Regions from separate parts of the Homo sapiens genome. Here all the other regions are linked to region 1. The links are contacts of gene promoters, found by promoter capture Hi-C in blood cells and fetal thymus (Javierre and others, 2016). All regions are on one chromosome and are shown on one strand. The core of a region is centred on a gene start or on the middle of the fragment in contact, and the rest is flanking DNA. Distances in the headings are between cores, read along the strand shown. Region 1 overlaps TRDN (triadin). Region 2 holds the start of SERINC1 (serine incorporator 1). Region 3 holds the start of FABP7 (fatty acid binding protein 7).

What was found. The method cuts DNA at HindIII sites, captures the fragments that hold promoters and counts their contacts. A CHiCAGO score of 5 or more calls a contact.
Region 2: the fragment with the promoter of SERINC1 here is called in contact with a fragment that was not itself captured in region 1 in 1 of 17 cell types (total CD4 T cells); the score reaches 5.7 in total CD4 T cells.
Region 3: a contact is called between the fragment with the promoter of FABP7 here and a fragment that was not itself captured in region 1, in 1 of 17 cell types (monocytes). The highest score is 5.3, in monocytes.

What each region holds. Positions count from the first base shown.
Region 1 is chr6:123,317,533-123,322,084 of GRCh38, forward strand. The region is part of intron 23 of TRDN (triadin); the gene reads right to left. The region is part of intron 1 of LOC124901393 (a long non-coding RNA gene); the gene reads left to right. Among named protein-coding and RNA genes, the nearest start is that of TRDN-AS1, 120 kb to the right of the region's middle. The HindIII fragment of the contact is 1,164 bases long and covers 1,976-3,139 here.
Region 2 is chr6:122,469,023-122,473,574 of GRCh38, forward strand. SERINC1 (serine incorporator 1) reads right to left here and starts at 2,785. Exons shown (of 10, transcript NM_020755.4): 1 at 2,677-2,785. The coding sequence starts at 2,715. It also overlaps a transcript of PKIB not described here. RefSeq lists enhancers at 2,435-2,834, 2,885-2,944. The HindIII fragment of the contact is 8,379 bases long and covers 1-4,552 here.
Region 3 is chr6:122,777,433-122,781,984 of GRCh38, forward strand. It overlaps FABP7 (fatty acid binding protein 7), which reads left to right and starts at 2,284. Exons shown (of 4, transcript NM_001446.5): 1 at 2,284-2,435; 2 at 2,859-3,031; 3 at 3,661-3,762. The coding sequence starts at 2,363. The HindIII fragment of the contact is 5,682 bases long and covers 1-2,663 here.

The DNA of each region.
Region 1 (4,552 bases), core at 1,308-3,807:
TTCTGTAAAAAGTAGTATCAGTGCTATTAATGCACTCTGACACTCTTTGGCACATATTTCTCCCCCTTTTTGACACATTCACTTAGCTTGGTAGATACACCCTATTTTAATGTTTTCTATGTGCCACAGTATTATAGAAAATTTTGTTATTGTCTGTAATCACTCTTTAGATTTTAAGCTCCATTAGTGCAAGAACTGTGTTTTGTTTATTACTCAAATATCAGCACTGGGTGAAATATCTGATATGTGGTATATGATCAACAAATATTGTTGAAGGAATGAATGAGTGAAATAAATGGAATATATAGAATGACTAAAGGCTCCCTGTTGGGTATCTGAAGTCCTAGAAGAAGTTGATTCATCTTATGACTCTGCAACTAGAGATAAAAATTCAATGTCACATAGCTGTTGCATTTATATTTTATTTTAGAAACTTAAAAAAATAAGTGATGTCTTTATGTGTCCAATGATAGCAAATATGGCCTGCAACAATTCAATGATACCTTCAATTATTGGGTTTCCTGGTGCTATGTTTTGTCTCAGTCAGTTTAGGCTAAAGTTAATTCCTATCTAATTACTTAGTCTACAATACACAATTCTCTCTTTTGATGGTGAGTTCTGATGAGATTTTGGCTTCACTGGAAAGGAAACAACTTTTTCTTTTCTCTAATAGTTCTTTCTTTATTGAATCTATGCTAGGTCAACAGTACAGTTTAAACTTTCAAGCAAATTAGCACAATTCTAGTGATGAGAATTATTTTTTCTGGAGTACTTATGGCTCAAGTGCTGGTCAATTATTGACTTGCATTATTCCATTATTTTATGAAGTACATGCTATTTTAATCCCCATTTGGTAGATGAAGTGACTGAAACTTACGGAAGTTAGTTTGCGGAACCTCATTCAGCTGCTAAGTGGCAGAACCAAGATTCCATTTTCCCAACCTATTTCCCTTCACCCGGGTCATATCCCAAGGTCTGGATAGAATGATCTTGGTCTCCTTCTTAGTTCTGTTTCCGAAGTATGGCTAATTTGAATATTTGGATTTCTTAGAAATGAATTCCCACAAATTTAAATCTTTTCTTCCTAGGACACAGTTCATTAGCATTTTGCTCATCAATAATAGGTATCTATTTGAAACAGCCTTGCTTCCCACTCTGCACACGGCTTTCACTCCTGTCAATCATATTGTAATCTTGAAATGAAATCTTCTCAGCCTTAATGTTTGTCAAACGATCTTTTGGAAAAAATAAAAATTGTGGAGAATATTTATACCAACTATGGGTACAATACAACCAGAACCAACTTCGATCTTGTACACAGAATTTTGTAAGCACTCCTATGAAAAGGTATTATCTAACGTGTGGCTGTGGGCCCTCTTACTAGAATAGAACTACTGGCTTTAGTGTTATGTGAACAGTAATGCTAAAGATGACCTTAGGACAAGTTCTTTTGGTGTATGAAGAGTCGGTTTTTGGGTTTTATAATCTGACTTTAAAAGCAAGCTCATTTCCTAAGTTTTGTGACCTTGGGCATTACTTAAAACCTCAAGTCTTCATTCTGTCATTGCTAAAATGGAGAAAATAATGTAAAATTGATGTGAGAATTAGAAGTGATGTATATAAAGAGCTTAGCTATTTTTAAATTATGCTCATAAACTTAAATTGCATGATCTTTCAAAGTAATTTTCTCTTTTTTTTTTAAACAGAATTGGGATTTTACCCTTGAATACTCAAGGCAGGAATTGATATGTGAGAAAGTGGCAACGGATTTTCTAAGTTGAGCAGCTCTTTTATTAGGCTACTTGATTTTTAAGAACTCAGTGCACTCATTTTGTAGATGATATTTCTACTGACAGTAAAGTATTTTTTGAGCCATATGAGATTACAGTTTCTAACTAGGATTTATTTCAAGCCATATAAAAACAACTATATATATATTTACATATGTGTGTATATATATAAACTTTATATATGAAGCTTAATGAAAAGTTATAATGAGATGCTTCAGGAAACCAAGGACAGTTGTTAGTTAATACTGGCCATTGGGACTGGGAGGCCAGAGAGACAGCAGGCGAGCATTTATTTTTCATTCTGTCTTCACTGTTTAATTGTTTTCTACCACAATTATTCTTGTATAATAATACAATATCTAATTTCTGTAAACATTTGCCACTGAAGCCCTTCGTTTTGGGCTACACGTACAAGCATTGGGGAAATATGGAACCAAAAAGTCCCCATGCTAAGTTGTTGAGGCAGGCAGCCTGCCATTTCCTATGCAGCACTGACTTTTCCAGGCTGTTGATTTCATTTGTGAAATGTAAATTGCTGATGGGCCTGGGGAAGGGAGCTTCATTAGTGATTTTTCAATGTCATCAATAGTGTTTTCAAGTAGAATAAGCAGACCAAAACTTCAGCATGCAAGTGCTTAAGTCAGAAGGGCAGCAGTGGAGACAAACTCTGTTTAGGAGTCTCTGCTTTGTCTTCATAAAAAGAAAAGAAATAAATTTATTCAATATATAAATCCCAATAATCTGCATTATTTTCAGAATGCCTCTATTTTAAGTACTTTGCAAGGCAAAAGCTAAATATCATAGATTTTTTTCTCAATTTATTTTGTTATTATCACGGTTGTTTCTTTAGCACATAGATATCTCACATGTGGAATAAAATAAAATAATAATCATTATTATTATTTTGCACCAATGACACTTTGTATTTGCCACATGGTAGTCTCTAAGGTAAGTATATTATATATGTTATCTATATTTTATTGATATAATATTAAATATTCATTTGTTTATTAGCTCTCTAACCCTAGTAGCATATAAACTTCATGAGTCCTGGGATGATTTTTTTATTTTCCCTAATACATGATAGTGCTTAGACTGTTCTTTGCACAGAAGAGAGATCAACAAATATTTGTTGAAAAAATGGACAAATTACATAATCCTTACATACCACTCCTATGTGGTAAATGTTATTATTAGACTCAATTTACAGATAGCAATACTGAGACTTAATAATATGTTTAAATATATACTCCCTAGTAAGTGGCAAAACTGGGATTTGAATTCCGTTTCCAAAGTTTTAAGCACTTCAACACACTTCTATAACTAAAGTTGCTACTGATAGAATTAAAAGCTTTGAAGCATTTAATACATAAAAACTGTATAGCACACCACATTCTACTTCTTATAAGTGGTCTGTCTATATTATCTATGTTGTATTATCTACACAAACTACTAATAGTCATTAGGATTATAATTAACATATACAGTATAATCACAGAGGTTTCTATTTTTTTTCAAGCCAGTCTTTAAATCATGAATCGTATTATATAGTTTCCTACGTTGAGCTGGTAAAACTAAGCAGTCTGAGCATTAATAGAAAATGAATAACTCTCTCACACACTCCTGGAGTAGTATTCAATATTTAATGACATGGGAAGTTGTTATATTTAAAAGCGGGTCACAAAACCTACTCCTGTAAAATATATAAAGGAACATTAGCAGTGTTATCTCTGGTCAACCATAGGTGAATTTCAGTATGAGGGGGTCTGGAAAACGTGGTGGCTGAGGACATAGGTCTAAAATCAGACTGCCAGACACCAGTTCTGGATCCACATCAGGCAATTGTGTGACCTGGGCAAGTAACTCTCAGTGCTTCCATTTTCACGTTAATGCAAACAGGATTGCTGTGAAAATTAAACACTACACGTGAAGTACTTCGAATGGTGCCAGGTACAAAGCAAACGGTGGAGGTCAATCATTTCACTGATATTTTAAACTACTTTTCTCGCACTTTTCTAACCCAATTTTAAATACAATACGTATTTTAAAATTAAAAAAAACATTTTATTTGTTATAAGCAACATTCATACATTTATTCCAAACCCATGGTTTTTCCATCATTTGGACCTTTTTTTATTCAGGATCTCCTGAATATTTGGACTTTGATGAAAACCTGTTGCTACTACTTGCTATTACTACTATTACCACTACTACACACAAAGACACGCAATTTCACAACTTTGTTGTGGTCCTAACTATATTATTATTTAAAAGAAAATGTGATGCACTTTGCATGTGCCTGCACACACACACACTCACACTCTTCCACATTCTGTTTTCTGCATGAGGAAGTACTGCATGGAATATAGAAATACTGTCACTCCAAATAGCTTGACTTCAATGTTTCAGATATGAGATAAGCCTCCCTAAATAAGTCTTAAGAGGAATGCTTATTTTGCAAAGATTCAGTCTGCTATACTAGATGGTATCTGATTTCTTCTGCTGCAGACACAATGCTTTGTGGTCCGGATAAATATAACTGTGAAAAAGACAAGATTTCACTGCCTTTGAGTTTGATTTTGAACTTCTTCAGTTCATAGATTGCCAAAAGAAGAAATTGTTCTAACTTTGGGTGAGGTCACACAGTGAACCAACACCCAGCATCTGCTACTACATAGCTTTTCATCTTATCTGGCTGTACATTTCTTTACTTCAATATTTTACTGACTGTTTAACATTTTCCTTTCTCTTATTTAGCCACA
Region 2 (4,552 bases), core at 1,535-4,034, 850 kb before region 1:
ATGTTTAAAGTAATTAACAATCAAAAAAAGAGACAACCATGCATGAATAAAAAATTATACTGCCATGAACCAAGGATTATGATCAATCTAATTCTAGGTCTCTTAGCAGCAAACAAAAAGTGAACAATTTAACACTCCAATTTCTGCTCAGTGGTATTACACATAATTTGTCTCTTTATAGTTCAGACATTTTCTACAATTATTTTATAAATAAGGAAAAAACTTTTACTAAATTTGATTAAGCCTGCAGAAACTTGTACTAATTAAGAATGAGGTTGGTTTGTTTTTAATTCTGGCTTACCTGATCTAATTTAATGATTTGAATGTTACTTTTTTTTTGTTCTGTTTTTTGTTTTTGTTTTTTTTTTTTTTGACACAGAGTCTCACTCTGTTGCCCAGGCTGGAGTGCAGTGGCGCCATCTTGGCTCACTGCAGCCTCCGCCTCCTGGGCTTAAGAGATTCTCCTGCCTCAGCCACCCGAGTGGGATTACAGGTGTGCGCCACCACATCCGGCTGATTTTTGTTTTTTTGTTTTGTTTTGTTTTGTTTTCTGAGATGGAGTCTTGCTCTGTTGCCCAGGCTGGAGTGCAGTGGCATGATCTCAGCTCACTGCAACCTCCGTCTCCCAGTTCAAGCAATTCTCCTGCCTCAGCCTCCCGAGTAGCTGGGACTACAGGCATGTGCCACCATACCCAGCTATTTTTTTTTGTATTTTTAGTAGAGACGGGGTTTCACCATATTGACCAGGCGGTCTCCCACTCCTGACATCAAGTGATCCATCCACCTCATCCTCCCAAGTGCTGGGATTACAGGCGTGAGCCACTGCAGCAGGCTCTGAGTGTTACTTTTGAAAAGCTGAATAAATTTTAATTTCATCAAAACCTCTAAGTAAATGAGCACATTAACTGTTAAGAATGTGGAAGAGATGGTCCCCTTCAATGACTATTGGCCTGCAGTAAAATCAAACAATTAATGAATAGAGACAGAGGCACAAGGAAGAAAAGGGAAAAAGATTACTGAAACTGCAAACAATAAAATAAATTCCAAACTGAGCACGGTAGCACCTGCCTGTAGTACCAGCTACCTGGGAGGCTGAGGTTACACTTAAGCCCAGCAGTTCCAGGCTGCAGTTCACTACGACCATCCCCTGCACTTCAGCCCGGCCAATACACTTAGACCCCCATCTCTAAAAAACTGCCTCACTGCTTCTACCTTTTTAATGTACTTCGCTATTAACACAGAAACTAAAAGGCAGGGTCAATTTTATCACGGACATTCTTCTAATCAATAAAGGTGGCGATCTATTTTGTAAAAGGGAAAACATGTATCTCATCTTTTAAATCTCTATTATATACAAAAAACTACAGCACGCCCACTTCATAACTGGACAAGATACGACATTACAAATTGAATTGCATAACATCTTCCAATAAAAAACCGATGAAAACAATCTTATATGATAATCAATTATCAGTTTTCAAAACTGTTTATCACACTAAATATGCCTCTTTTGTATAAAAGTCAATAATTAAACTCTCTAATATCTTGAGATAAAATATTCCAGGCTTCCGTGCAAGAAGAAATACCATATAATCAAAAGAACAGACTGGCTGGAGTAACAATCCCCACATTATTATTTGATTAAAATTCAACATTTTTAGTTCAAGACATATCAAAACCTTTAAGAGTATATATAACGGAATCATTTGGGAAGTCAGAAAAGCAATTGTTAGAAACAGAATTAACAAATTCCAGACTAAAGAAAAGTGATTTGAGTCCAAATACCTCGCCTAAAATTACAAATATCTTTATTAACTGCACTGCCAATGTTTTGCCTACTATTTTGGAGGGGGCAGAGATTATCTTAAATAAACTGAAATTTGTGCCACACGGACCAAAGTCTTGCCACTATACTGAAAATAGTTTTACTCTAACAACTCTTTAATGAAAATGCAATGTACAGCTAATTAAGCATGAAATTTCAGATGACACACGCATGTTTTGTGCCTAAAGACAAAATTGTCATTAGGCACAAGGCATGCGTGTGTCATCTGAAATTTCAATTTTAAGTTGAAATCTGAAATTGACACTTCAAACAGTTACGGCAGAGCTATGACTATTTGTTTCAAAAACAATATTACTACATTAGCATTACTGCCAGGCGGTTCCAAATGACGACAGGCACTTTTTAATCATAATCTGCGCCACTGAACAAAGAGGGCGACATGAATCCAGGAACGACAGTGCGGCAGTCTGAGGTCGCCAGGAAAGAGATGACAACAGAGTGGGTACCCCACCGAAGGAAAGGGGCAAAGACCTTTGTAGAGATGGCCTGCGCAGATACAAACAAAACCACGAAAAGGGACCTCAAAGAATGGGAGACAGCGTTCACGAAGCAGGGGTGGGGGAGGGGCCCTATTCTAGTTCTCTTCCTCAATTTGAGTCATCTTCCCATCGCCACTAAACCTTACGGCCAGTGATCAGTTCTTCGCAAGACCCAAAGCTCTGAAGCTGAGTCTGAGTGACGAGAGGAGACGGGAAGAAAACGGGGACAGAGAGGGCACTCCCTGTTGGGTGGGGCACCACATTCCCGCCGGGCTCACCCAGCCCCGGCTCGGATCGCCTTCTCTTTGGTCTCTCACACTAGCACCCCAGAGGCCGCAAAAAGCACCTTACCCAGCTCGCCATGGAGCACAGCCCCAGGACGCTCCCCATCTCCACAACGTCACAAGAGCAGCGGATACAGACAAGATGGAGACAGCTTCTTTCTCGCCTTTCCGAGATTATTTACTATCTGCGAGACACTTCCGGACGCACAGCGCAACCCGCCCCTCAGCCTCGCGTCACTTCCTTCCAGGCCTGGGTAGGATAAAACACGGAGCGCGCAGCGCTGAGACTGCGCATGCGCGTCACTAGACGACACGGCTGTCTTCTTTCCTGGAGAATTTCTCAAGGACTGCTGGCTGGAAACTTAACGGCTAATGTGGATCTGACCGTAGTTTGCCAAATTAAGAAAACGGTGTGAGCAAAACCCACCTTTACCTACCATGCACTTGCATTTGGGCATTAGTAGAGAACAGAGCTGAGGTGGTGGTTGACGTTTTGCCCTCCTTCATCTGAGGAACCTCTCTGCTTTTTAGGGGATTGCTTCCTCTTTCTCAGTCTTTGTCCGTCCTAACTCCACTTATTTCCCATTTTTCCCACGTTTGCATCCTGTTTTGCTCTTGCGTTTGCAACGTATTCCTGCAGCCCGCTGCCCGGAACAAGTTTTATTGGGATATTTATATTCATCTGTGTGCTTCAGTTTCTCTGTATCATTTCTGTTTGCTATTGACTTATATTTTAATTTCTTATGCTATTAAGATGTTACAAGAAATTTGCACGTTAAAATTATTTTTAATTAGTTAGATAAGACATTATCAAACTCAAACATTGATTTCGAATGTCATGAGCTGTTGAGGCATGTGGAACCCTTGCATATTAGGTGATGATGCACATCTGCAGGGAATGCATTCCTATAAAAGTTCCAGTTATTTTTTTAGAGTTATTTGTTCTTGAAAATATTCTGGGAAACAGCTCAAACTTGAAATAGTCATTCCCATAACTAATAATAAGAAAGTGTTGTAAAATCTACAAAAATTGCATGGGTCGAGGTGGGGTAAACACCTAAGAATCTGGAAGAATGTCAGAATCCCTACTCCTAGTTATTGTAACCACTAAGGGACAATCTTGCTTTATTCTTCTTTGCCTTATCTGTGGTTTTGTAGACCACTCTTAAAGCAAAGTATTATAATAGAGCATCCATAAGGTTTAAAGAATTGTGGAAATGCTTGTAATCCCAGAACTTTGGGAGGCTGAGGCAGGCGGGTCACAAGGCCAGGAGTTCAAGACCAGCCTGGCCAGCATGGTGAAACCCCATCTCTACTAAAAATACAAAAAATTAGCCGGGCATGGTGGCACGCGCATGTAATCCCAGCTACTCGGGAGGCGAGGCAGGAGAACTGCTTGAACCCGGGAGGCAGAGGTTGCAGTGAGCCGAGATTGGGCCACTGCACTCCAGCCTGGGCTGCAGAGCGAGACTCCGTCTCAAAAAAAAAGAATAGTGGAAATGGAAATTACAAACCTAACAATATTTTTAATTATGCTAAACTTAATACGTTATTTATGGGAGAAGAGAATCCTAGTATCTCAAGTCCTTAAACTTTTCAAAGTACCAGAGAAGGAGACAAAAAACACTTATATGTGAGTAACTTTAAGGTCGTAAAGAATATGTTTATTAGCCAAATGGAGAATGGGTCTCTTAAAATTTAAATTTGCACAGATTCTTGTCTCTTGCTCCATTTAAGAGGGTTTCTGAGATATTCATAAGTTCTTGCACTATTCAATAGAGTTTTTTCACCTGAGATATTCAGAGTTAAATACAAAAGTCATATTAATCTTTCTGGAATGTAACACTTGGCCTTGAAATACATTAAAAAAAATTTACTTTTATTTAACCTGTAGGCTATGTGGAGTGGAATTTGCTCACTTAAGTTATTATATATACAACATT
Region 3 (4,552 bases), core at 1,034-3,533, 540 kb before region 1:
ATAAAAGGAAGGGAAGTCGGACATACTTCTGACTTTTTGGAGTTTAGACACAACTGACAGGCATTCATGTTAAAATAGAGATTATAAAACTGACAAAACAGACTCTTTGTGTCAATAAGACACCAAACTATAAACAAGATCTAAGGTAATGCAAGGCAAGAATTAGGCCATTCATCTTGCCACAGAGCATCCTTTTGTTAATATAAAACATTTATGTCCAGCCTGGGCAACATGGCAAGACCTTGACTCTACTAAAAGTACAAAAAAATAGCCAGGCATAATGGTACATGTCTGTTGTCCCAACTACTCAGAGGGCTGATGTGGGAGGATCACTTGAGTCGTGGAGGTTGCAGTGGGCTGAGATCGCGCCACTGCACTCCAGCCTGGGTGAGAGAGCAAGACCCTTTCTCCAAAAATAAATAAATAAATAAATAAATAAATATAATTTTTTTATGTGCACTCCAAGTTTTAGACAGAGCCTTATTCCTTTAACCAAGTGCAAATTAAAGAATCTCTGAATTCATCTATAAGCTGTAAGCCCTCAGCTTCAAGATATCCCAGCTTTTTGAGCTGAACCAATGTATGCCTTCCATGTATTGATTTACGTTTTTGACTGTACTTCTTGGCTCCCTAAAATGTATAAAACCAAACTGTAATCTGACCACCTTGGGACCACTTTCCCAAGGCTTCTTGGGTTTGTGTTTTCCCTGGGCCTCAGTTGCTCATATTGGTTCAGAGTAAACTTCTGTAAAACATTTTACAGAGTTTGGTTTTTCTGTTAGCAAAGCAAAAGAGATAGGCCTTGACATTAAGTTTGATTTTAGTGGTAAAGTATTAGAAATGATTCAGAGGTTTCTGGCTTGTACAGTTGGGTGCATGGTGGTATCAGTCACAAATAAAGTGAAAATTGGAAGAAAAGCAGTTGTGAAGGAAGACTACAGTTTTTGTTAAACAAGCGCACTTGAGACACCGAAGAAGAATCATGTAGCCGCCACCTAGCGTAGGAGGCCTTCTGAGCCTTCTCTGTTGGATCTGGTGTGGATTGGGTAGAAATGTGCTGGGCTGCAGTTTAATTGGGAGGGGAGAGAGAAGGGCAGGGAATATCAAGTCGGATTCTCCTGCTCTGTCCCCAGGAGAGGCAGGTAAGCTGCTTTCATTGCTGGTCAGCACTAGTAAGTCAGGAAGGAATCTCTTTGGGTGAAGGGGAATTTCAGAGACTTCCTTTAAATACTCTACTTAGAACCCTCAAGGTATTTGCCATTCTTGGGGAACCCTGAGCCAGGGCAAACTGAAACCAAAGCCCTTCTGATTCCTACCGCTCCTCCAGTTCCTGCCCTTCCCCATCACTAACTCCCAACAAATGTACACAGATTGTATTTGTGTAGATGTGGCCTCAGGAAATCAAAAGGTCCTAGAATGCAGGTAATTTAAAGTCTTACTAAATAATCTTCTGTCCAGTTTTTCCACATGGGTTCTATAATCTATTCAAGGAGATCGGGGGGAAAAGCATTCTTTTATTTATTTTTGTACCTCATTAGTAAGTCCTAACCATACTCTTCCTTAGGTCCCTTTTCCAACTCAGTCTCGTTCTCACATTTTTAGAAAGGACAACGGGATCTTTAAATTCTCTCGGTTTGTGTTGGGAAAGGACCCAAATTAGTGTGCTTCCTCATTGACAGTCAGAGTAGCCTTCAAGCAGTATATCCAGGGAAGGCATTTACACCTCCTCCCCGCCCTCTTTTTCAGTTTGGCCTACTCTAGCCTGCATTTCGCTCTCCCTGTAACTATGAGAGAAAATAACACACACTATTCACTCTCCTTTGTCTGCAAAGTCTGGCATTTCAGTGGTTTTCTTTAAGGGGGGTCCTCATTTGTGACCAGCTTTGTCATTAACGGAAATCAATCTGAATGCCCCATTGTGCATCTTTTTTCTTTCCTTGCAGTCTGAGATTGCCTTTGCCAAGTTTTTTCTCACCGAACCTGAAAGCCCTTCTCTCATTTTCCCGTTCCCTGCCTCCAGCCCCATTGAATCCCTGCCGAGCTTTCTCAGGCATAAGGGCTGTAGTGTGAGGATTGGGAGGAACTCGACCTACTCCGCTAACCCAGTGGCCTGAGCCAATCACAAAGAGGATTGGAGCCTCACTCGAGCGCTCCTTCCCTTCTCCTCTCTCTGTGACAGCCTCTTGGAAAGAGGGACACTGGAGGGGTGTGTTTGCAATTTAAATCACTGGATTTTTGCCCACCCTCTTTCCAAATAAGAAGGCAGGAGCTGCTTGCTGAGGTGTAAAGGGTCTTCTGAGCTGCAGTGGCAATTAGACCAGAAGATCCCCGCTCCTGTCTCTAAAGAGGGGAAAGGGCAAGGATGGTGGAGGCTTTCTGTGCTACCTGGAAGCTGACCAACAGTCAGAACTTTGATGAGTACATGAAGGCTCTAGGTAGGTAACAATAAGACCGGCTGTTCTCTTCTCAACGTGCAGCTTTAGATATTTGCAGATTCCATTTTTCACTCATCAGGTCAGCAAGAGGCAAAGACAGATCACATTGCCCTGATCAGATGCTAGGCTATGCATTTTCCACTGAATGGATTTTTAATGTGGCACTTGCTTGCCTTCTTACCCAGGGCCAATAAAAACAGAACATTTGCTATTCCGTGGAGAATATGAAGCTTCTCTGACTTTTTTGGTTTTCTTCTGCATCCACTTATTATCACAGTAGTGTTTTACATGATTAATGGGCTAATCATGTTCTAATGAAACTTACACTTTAGAACGTGGATTCCAGAATCAGAAAGCAGATTCTTGCTTTGTGAGTTATTTTGGAAGTCGCTGCAGACTGTACTGTTCCCTTTGCTATTTTAGGCGTGGGCTTTGCCACTAGGCAGGTGGGAAATGTGACCAAACCAACGGTAATTATCAGTCAAGAAGGAGACAAAGTGGTCATCAGGACTCTCAGCACATTCAAGAACACGGAGATTAGTTTCCAGCTGGGAGAAGAGTTTGATGAAACCACTGCAGATGATAGAAACTGTAAGGTGAGAAACTGCTTCTTCTTCAGAGTGGGGATGGGGAGAGGGGAATAAAGATAAAGATTTCCAATGCATGTTTTTTTTAAGATGTTGGAAAGTGTAGAATATTTTCAGTATTTCAATCCAAGGAGAAATACACCAAAGTTAGTTTAATGTGCATATGTTATATTTTGAACAATGGGTACTTGCTATAGCATAAATCTCAGTTGTATTTGTCTCTTACCATATACTGTTCACATTTTATATCAAACTTGTATTTCAGAAAATATTTAATAAGGTTTGTTTGAAAGAGAGATTGCATTTTGTTTAATTCCCCAGGTTGCCTCAGATTGACTAAATAGACAGTTTGCCTCATTCTAAGGCTTTCTTTAGAGGGACGACTAGCTGCAAAGCACTGGTTTAGGATTTTTGTTTTTAATATATTAAATTTTTGTATTTAGATGTATACTTTTTAATCAAATTATGAATTCAAATTTACATAATAGAAAATCTAGAAGTAATAGAAATAACAATAGGATAATTAACTGATCATGATTTATTCAATTATACAACTCTTTCAAAAATCACATCGTCTTCCGTATCAGAAATCTGAATTGTATTTATTGCTATGTTCTGCATTTTGTTGTTGGTCTCAGTCTGTTGTTAGCCTGGATGGAGACAAACTTGTTCACATACAGAAATGGGATGGCAAAGAAACAAATTTTGTAAGAGAAATTAAGGATGGCAAAATGGTTATGGTAAGTAATGACAATTCTCCATTCTTCCTTGTTTTTTTCTCCTCTCCGCACACCTCTCACCTCCTTCCTTCTTCTTCCCTCCTCCTTCCATTCTTCCTCCTTCCTTCCTTCTTTAATAATACATCACTGGCAAGGTTCTTTAACTATATGTAAAACAGGGGAAACAAAAAGATCCCAGTTAATTTTCTTCTTCAGCTCAACTTCTTTGATTGTAGAAAAAGAGAAAAATTCATGTGTAGTTAAAAAAATAAAAGTTGCCATTGATTTGCCTAAAACTGTGTCAAAAGATTTTTTGTAGGATAACTATGGATGTCTCTCAAATAAAATTTAATATAAAGCCCATAATCACTGAAATATATAAAGATAATTGCTATTATAAGAGAATCTCAGACAGATGACTTTATAGCTCCTGTAATAAGAGATCTTTAAACAGTTTATATTTTAATTTATAAAGTTACACAAGTTCTGGGCAGATAATTTAGAATATAACAGAAAAGTATAACAAAAAAATTAAAATCCCCTCTGATTTCTCATCAGTGATAACCCTTTTTTTTTTTTTTTTTTGAGATAAAGTCTTGCTGTGTCACCCAGACTGGAGTGCAGGGGGTGCATTCTTGGCTCACTGCAACCTCTGCTTCATGGGCTCAAGCGATTCTACAACCTCAGCCTCCTAAGTAGCTGGGACCACAGGTGCAAGCCACCAACGCCGGGCTAATTTTTTTGTATTTTTGTAGAGATGGGATTTCGCCATGTTGCCCAGGCTGGCCTACAGCTCTTGAGCTCAAAGTGA